2 separate regions of the Homo sapiens genome follow, and region 1 is linked to region 2. Evidence: promoter capture Hi-C in 16 types of primary human blood cells and fetal thymus (Javierre and others, 2016). All regions are on one chromosome and are shown on one strand. Each heading gives the region's core, a stretch centred on a gene start or on the middle of the fragment in contact. The rest is flanking DNA. Distances are from core to core; before and after follow the strand shown. Region 1 overlaps EIF2AK4 (eukaryotic translation initiation factor 2 alpha kinase 4). Region 2 holds the start of PLCB2 (phospholipase C beta 2).

Region 1 (2,988 bases), core at 259-2,758, 370 kb before region 2:
CCTCTGAAAGTGCTGGGATTACAGGTGTGGGCCACCGCGCCTGGCCTCTTCATCTGCTTTTAACTTTGGCATTTCACAACATCTGCTCTATCTACACATCCAGGATTTCCTCAAGAAATACCATCTTCTGGAGCTATCAGGACAAAATATTCTCTCTCAAACTCAGGGTGCTTCTTCCTTCATTAAATATTTGTTTTAGGCATTAGGAATACAGCTGTGGGCAAAACAGACAAAAATCCTTGCCCTCAGGGAGCTTACTTTTCTAATGCTTAATAATATGAAGTTATTTTTAACCTGAAATGGTAAAAATATAAATTATTCCCCTTAACATGACAGAGAAGTTGGTGACTGGGGAACTTCTATCTTCCCAAACCTTGAGAATCAGGAAGTAGGCCCAAGAAGCAGCCAAAATAGGTGTCTCAAAGTGTACATGGGACTCAACACAAAGCTCCTAAGGCTTCATTCTGAACTAGTTTGTTTACTTTATACAAGCTTAGTTGTCTGCTCCTAGGGCTGCAGAAAAATGGAAGAGAAAAAGCAACTTCTTTTAGGTAGGGATATTGATAACCTCAAGAATTTATAGCTGGTGGCTTTCATAACAAGATGGAATACTAGACAAACCAAAGCAAAAACTATAGAAGGCAGGCAGAAGAATTTAAATAGCTGTCTGTGGCCTATTGTACACCGGGCAAATGGCCTCAACACATTCATAGGACTGGCAGGCAAATAATTGATGGTCTCAAGGATGAATCAGAGTTTAGTCATTCAACAAGCACTTATTATCACCTGCTATTTGCCAGGGAAAAGTGATGCAGGTCCAAAATCCTTTATCCAAAACTCTTTATTGAGAGGGAGTTTCTCTCTGTCGCCCGGGCTGGAGTGCGGTGGAGCAATCTCGGCTCACTGCAACCTCCACCTCCCAGGTTCAAGCGATTCTTGTGCCTCAGCCTCCTGAGCAGCTGGGATTACAGGTACCCGCCTCCACACCTGGCTAATTTTTGTATTTTTAGTAGAGATGGAGTTTCATTATGTTGGCCAGGCTGGTCTCGAATTCCTGACCTCAAGTCCTCCCGCCTCGCCTCCCAAAGTCCTGGGATTACAGGTGTGAGCCACCGTGCCCAGCCTTTTATCCAAAACTCTTGAGACTTGATGGGTTTCAGAATTCAGAAGTGCTTCTGTTCACGTTTATGTGTGCACATTCCACACATTACCTAATACCTTCCTCAGTGTCTGGGGCAGCATCGAAAATCAAACACAATGAAACATAGAAATACTCAAATTTCACACTGAACAAATAAACACTATAACTAACCTCATGTCAGTTCAGGCTAAATTTGCTGCCAATAAATTCAGGTTAGATTTTTTTTTCAACTTCTTTTAGTGGGGATGTGTTGTAATATAAATTTCAGTTTAGTAGCATATGTATATCATTTATAAATAACATTTTGAGGTGCATGCTAAAAACTTTTGCATTTGTAAAAAGTTTAGACACTGCTAGTTTAAAGTATCTATAATTTATAGATAGTTACAAATTACTAACTTATTTTGGCTAGCTTTCCACAGCAGCAAAAGGTCTGCTCATTTATAATTTGATAGCTTTTGGAAACATCCCTCCAAAAAACTTGCTTCAATCCCTGGATCCCCCAGTAGTGTATGGTGGTGTTTGTTTTCCTTTATCTTCAACAATACTATATATGTTAGACTTTTTCATCTTTGCCACATAAATGAAACATATCTCATTTTAATTTTTATTTATTTATAAATTATCTAGAACACCTTTGTTTACAAACCATTGATTTTTCTTTTTCTGTGAACTGCTCATACTCTGGTTTATTTTTCTACTCTGTGGTCCATTTTCTTGTTTATTTGTAAGAGCTAAATATCTTAAGAAAACTAGCATTTTGGGTCATATAATGCATATATTTTTCTCCTAATTATATGCATTTATTTACGTAATTTATGTGATTTAAAAAATGTTGATAGAGTCAAAATGACCTTTTTTTTCTTTTATGGTCCCTGTGGGTTTTTTTTCCCCCTCTGTTCCAATGTTACTAAAAACCAAATTCGTCAAAGTTTACTTTTAACTTGTTCATGACTTCGTTTTTAAATTTTCATCAAATAAAGATATAAGTAGGTTTTTTTTTTTAAGTTCTTCGTTCCATCAAAGTACGGGCCTAGGCCACCTCCCCGTGTGCATCCCTCCTCCTCCAGCTAGGCAGCTAGACAAATATAGGCAATTGAATTTTTCAGTGTCTTCCACTCATTTGAAATGCCATTCCTACAAGCCCAGTGCCTGGTAAAACAAACAAAAAACTTTCAAAAATTGTTACTGAATGAAATAATTCTCAAATGTATTTCAAGTCTCTTTTTTTCCTTGCCTGGAATGCTTGGTCTCTTGGCTTGTCTCAGCTTCAATGCTACATCCTCAGATAGTTCTTCTTTGATAACCACATTTAAGTATATACCCTCACACCCCAAGTCGTTTGTTAAGGAGAGCACCACGTCATCTCTTCAACGGCACTCTCTAAGCTTGTACTTATGTGTTTATTATGTTTGTTTTCCCCCACCAGACTGAAGTTCCATGAGAGCTGGAACCATATCTGTGTTCTCACCTCCGTGGACTAAGCACAGTGCCTGACACAGAGTCAGTGCTTAGCAAATATGGGTGATGGATGTGTGATGGGTGAATGAGTGGATGAAAGACCTGTGGACCAAAGAGTGCTTAACCCTTCCCCAGACCACATTCGCAGAATTATGCTTTATGGAAGGACCCACACATTTATCAAGGATTATTATAAAGCCATATAAGAACTGATCTTACAAATTTTGTACACATAGTAGAAGAGTACAGTGTTTATTATATGGTACTCCTTGTAAGGTTCACGTTATAAATTTCTGTTAGAATTTAGTATTATAAGTACTTTGCTTCCCTAAAATAATTTTTAGGCTTTCTCTTTTCTGATGATACCACGTTTCTCTTTTTGCCCT
Region 2 (3,393 bases), core at 641-3,140:
TAATGTCTTGTGGCCTTGCAGAGTTTCTTTCCATGGCCAGGGGGAGAGCTTCTCCTACCAAATATATTGTAAAGAGGCCATGGGAGATGAAATAAAGTTGGGATTTGCTTACATCCTATGTATTCTGCTTATTCAACATGGCACAGCACACCCATGCCATCCACTAACTGTGCCAAAAGCAGCCTGAAAGCAGAGCCCTGTCTCACAGCAGCATGGACCTGTGGATAGGCTTGGGACATTCTTGCTTGTGCAGGTCAGGATCCAGAGAACATCCAATGCCCTACCTTGGAGAGGGGAAGGGAACAGCCAGGTACACAGGTGCCAGCTTAGGAAGAAGGACAGTCTCCGCTGGCCACCAACCCCCGACCTCCACTGCCACCCTGTGACCCTCTGCCCAGTCAGGTTACACACACTGCCCAGAGGAACTGAGAGAGGCCACTTCGCTTTTCATTCTGAGCCACTTCCCTCATTCCACAGGCTCCTGGGGCATGTCACCTCCATGCCACTGCCATGCTACACCAACCCCACATCACTCCTAGGGAAGCAGGAAGCATCTCACCACAGGGCCCCAACCCATAGTCATGGGCAGCGAGATCCCCTAGCCTAGCCCAGCCCCGAAGGGCCTAGACCCAGACCCCCTCATCCCACCTCCCATCAGGTGGACAAGTCAGCACTAAGGGCTGTCTTCCCTCCCCCACCAAGCCTTCATTTCCCTTCCTGGGACAAGCCCAGCACTCTAACTCTCAGACTGGGCGAGCCCAGCAGCCTCCCCTCCCTGAAGGAGAATCTCCATATTGTTCTCTCCAGCCTAAGAGAATCCCTGGCCTAAGGTAACATTTTCAGGGGCCAGGAGAACCAGAGCCTGGGAGCAGCCCCGTGTAGGAAGGAACAGACACAGCAGAGAGAGGGCTGCAGGGTGCAGCAGTGTCTTCCCCTTCCCTTGCTGACAGGCCTGCATCGGGGAGCAATGCTGAGCCCAGCAAGGGGTAGCAGAAGTCAAATCAGCTCCTTCCCTGGGAGCAGAAGCCTCTAGTTCTCACTTAGGTCCAGGGGCCTTTTGTGGCTGCCCCCACAGCAGCGCAGGGGAGAGCAAGGCTTCCCTGGACAGGATGATGCCCAGTGGAGGGGGTGAAGGAGCTGGGTCTGAGCGCCCTGCCGGAGCAAGGGCAAGACATCTGTGCTGGGAGCGGGGACGAGCTCACCTCTCCTCCTAGCCTGCCTCAGCTCTGGGGTGCACTTTCCTCCTCTTCTCTTGGGGGTTTGAAGGAGAAGAGAAGCAGACCCAAATAAACTACCTCCAGTGACCACCCAGGCAGCTCACCCACTTCTCACACCTAGAACCAAGGCTTAGCCCTTTAGCTGGGGACATACACCCTTAATCCCAGGTTTGTTTATCCAAGCAGTGGTGTCAGCTGCCTGGCCAAACCACACAGGCGCCTGGATCCTAGGAGACATAAACCAATCCTCCCACCCAAGCAAAGCCCCGTAGCAGCCCGGCCCCCACCACCTGGTGCTCCAGCAGCTGAGGCCCCTGCCCCACTTACATCATCCCATTTGATGAAGCGCTCCCCTTGGCTCAGATAGGCCTTCACCTTGGGGGGCAGCAGGACAGGGTTGAGCAGAGACATGGTGCCAAGCGTTCCTCTTTGCAGAATCTCAGCAGACACAGGCAGGCAGAAGGGCAGGAAGGAGGCCAGCCAGGAGGGGGAGCCAAGCTGGGCTCAAATGGCACCCATCCCCGAGCTGCTCCAGAAATCTAGTTGCTCTTATAGCCCCTGGGGTGGCCCTGGCTGAGTGCAGGACTGAGCTGTAGCCAGAGGCCCATCTGCCTTGTAAATCACCCTCCTCCCACCCGCCCTGCCTGCCATGGGGGCCTGTGGTCACTGCTTCTGCCCAAGGAGGCTGAAGCAGGAAGCCCCCGCCTCTTCTGGAGGCCCCCGCCCCCACCCCCAGCCCCACCCTGTGCCTCTCAGCACTTCCTGCTCTGGGCTTCCTTCTCTGCGCTGCTCACAGCGGAGACGTGGTCATGAGGCCGGGTCGCCTTGGAGCCAGGGCCTCTCAGTCCCTGTGGTGGTCTCTGGTCAGATTTGGCCCAGGAGGGCTGGAGAAGGACGACATGGAGACCAGCTGGGGAGACTGCTGCCCAGGCCTGGACTGAGGGAAGGCACAGGGAGCTCACTAGGAGAAAGGACCTCCTCAGGGGAAGGGTCCAGAGCATGGGCATCTGACCCCAAAGGTTGGGAGCACCGTAGAGGCAGGGGTGGGGTGGGGACAGGGCCCAGCTGGAATGGAGTGTTTTGAATAAGCAAAGTTTGCTGAACACACGGCTCCTCTTTCTCAATGCTTCCTCCCCCATGAAAATGAGGTGCACCTGCCGGGCGGGCGGGTGCGGTGGCTCACGCCTGTAATCCTAGCACTTTGGGAGGCCGAGGCGGGCGGATCACGAGGTCAGGAGATCGAGACCATCCTGGCTAACACGGTGAAACCCTGTCTCTACTAAAAATGCAAAAAATTAGCTGGGCGTGGCAGCGGCGCCTGTAGTCCCAGCTACTCGGGAGGCTGAGGCAGGAGAATGGCATGAACCCAGGAGGCGGAGCTTGCAATGAGCCGAGATGGCGCCACTGCACTCCAGCCTGGGCGACAGAGCAAGACTCCATCTCGAAAAAAATAAAAAAAGAAAGAAAATGAGGGGCACATGAGGCAAGGCAATCACTCCCCTCACCCACCTCACCAGACTCCCACCTCTGGGCCTCTGGGACTGCCTGAGGCCTGGACCCCCACTGAGCAGCCCTAGCCCCTGCCTCCACTGCGCTCTCCTCTCTCCTCCGTGTGCCCGCCTCTGCTGTGTACCCCAGCCTGCAGCGGGGCTGGGGCGGAGGGATGGCTGCTCTGGTTGGCCAGGCTCAGCCCCAGCTGCTCAGGTGCCTGACCCACACTCTGCCCCAGGCCCAGGGAGTTCAGCACCAGTCCAGCTCAGCCCAGCCCACTTCCTCTTGCCTAATCTGCTCCTCTTATCGCCCTTCTTAGCCCAGCCTGGGAGGCAGGGAGCTCTACCCAAGACTTCCTTCCCCTCTGGGGCCTGGCCTTTTGCCCTGGGTCACCCCCCCATGGGGCTTTGCATACCCCCAACAACGGTAAGACCCTCACCCAGGCCCTAGAATTGTCGCGGCTGGAGGTCTGGTCCAGGGCAGGGTGGAGGGTGAGGGAGGACACTCTTCATGCGGAATTAAGATAATAAACTGCCCAGTGGAGGCTGGAGCTAAGGGAATTCCCAGCACAGAAATAATCTGCAGAAGAGCAATTCTAGGGCCGGGGGATGGAGCCGGAGCAGGGCCTGACCAAGCCTCTGGAAATGGTAACAATTCAGAGGACTCTTCTTCCTCGTTTCCCCCA

The links. Contacts are between HindIII fragments. The CHiCAGO score rates a contact against its expected background, and 5 or more counts as called.
Region 1: a fragment that was not itself captured here is called in contact with the fragment with the promoter of PLCB2 in region 2 in 2 of 17 cell types (fetal thymus and activated CD4 T cells); the score reaches 5.4 in fetal thymus.

What each region holds. Positions count from the first base shown.
Region 1 is chr15:39,935,585-39,938,572 of GRCh38, forward strand. All of the region lies in intron 1 of EIF2AK4 (eukaryotic translation initiation factor 2 alpha kinase 4), which reads left to right. Among named protein-coding and RNA genes, the nearest start is that of EIF2AK4, 3.0 kb to the left of the region's middle. The HindIII fragment of the contact is 2,037 bases long and covers 491-2,527 here.
Region 2 is chr15:40,306,045-40,309,437 of GRCh38, forward strand. PLCB2 (phospholipase C beta 2) reads right to left here and starts at 1,891. Exons shown (of 32, transcript NM_004573.3): 1 at 1,545-1,891. The coding sequence starts at 1,628. The HindIII fragment of the contact is 15,701 bases long and covers 1-3,393 here.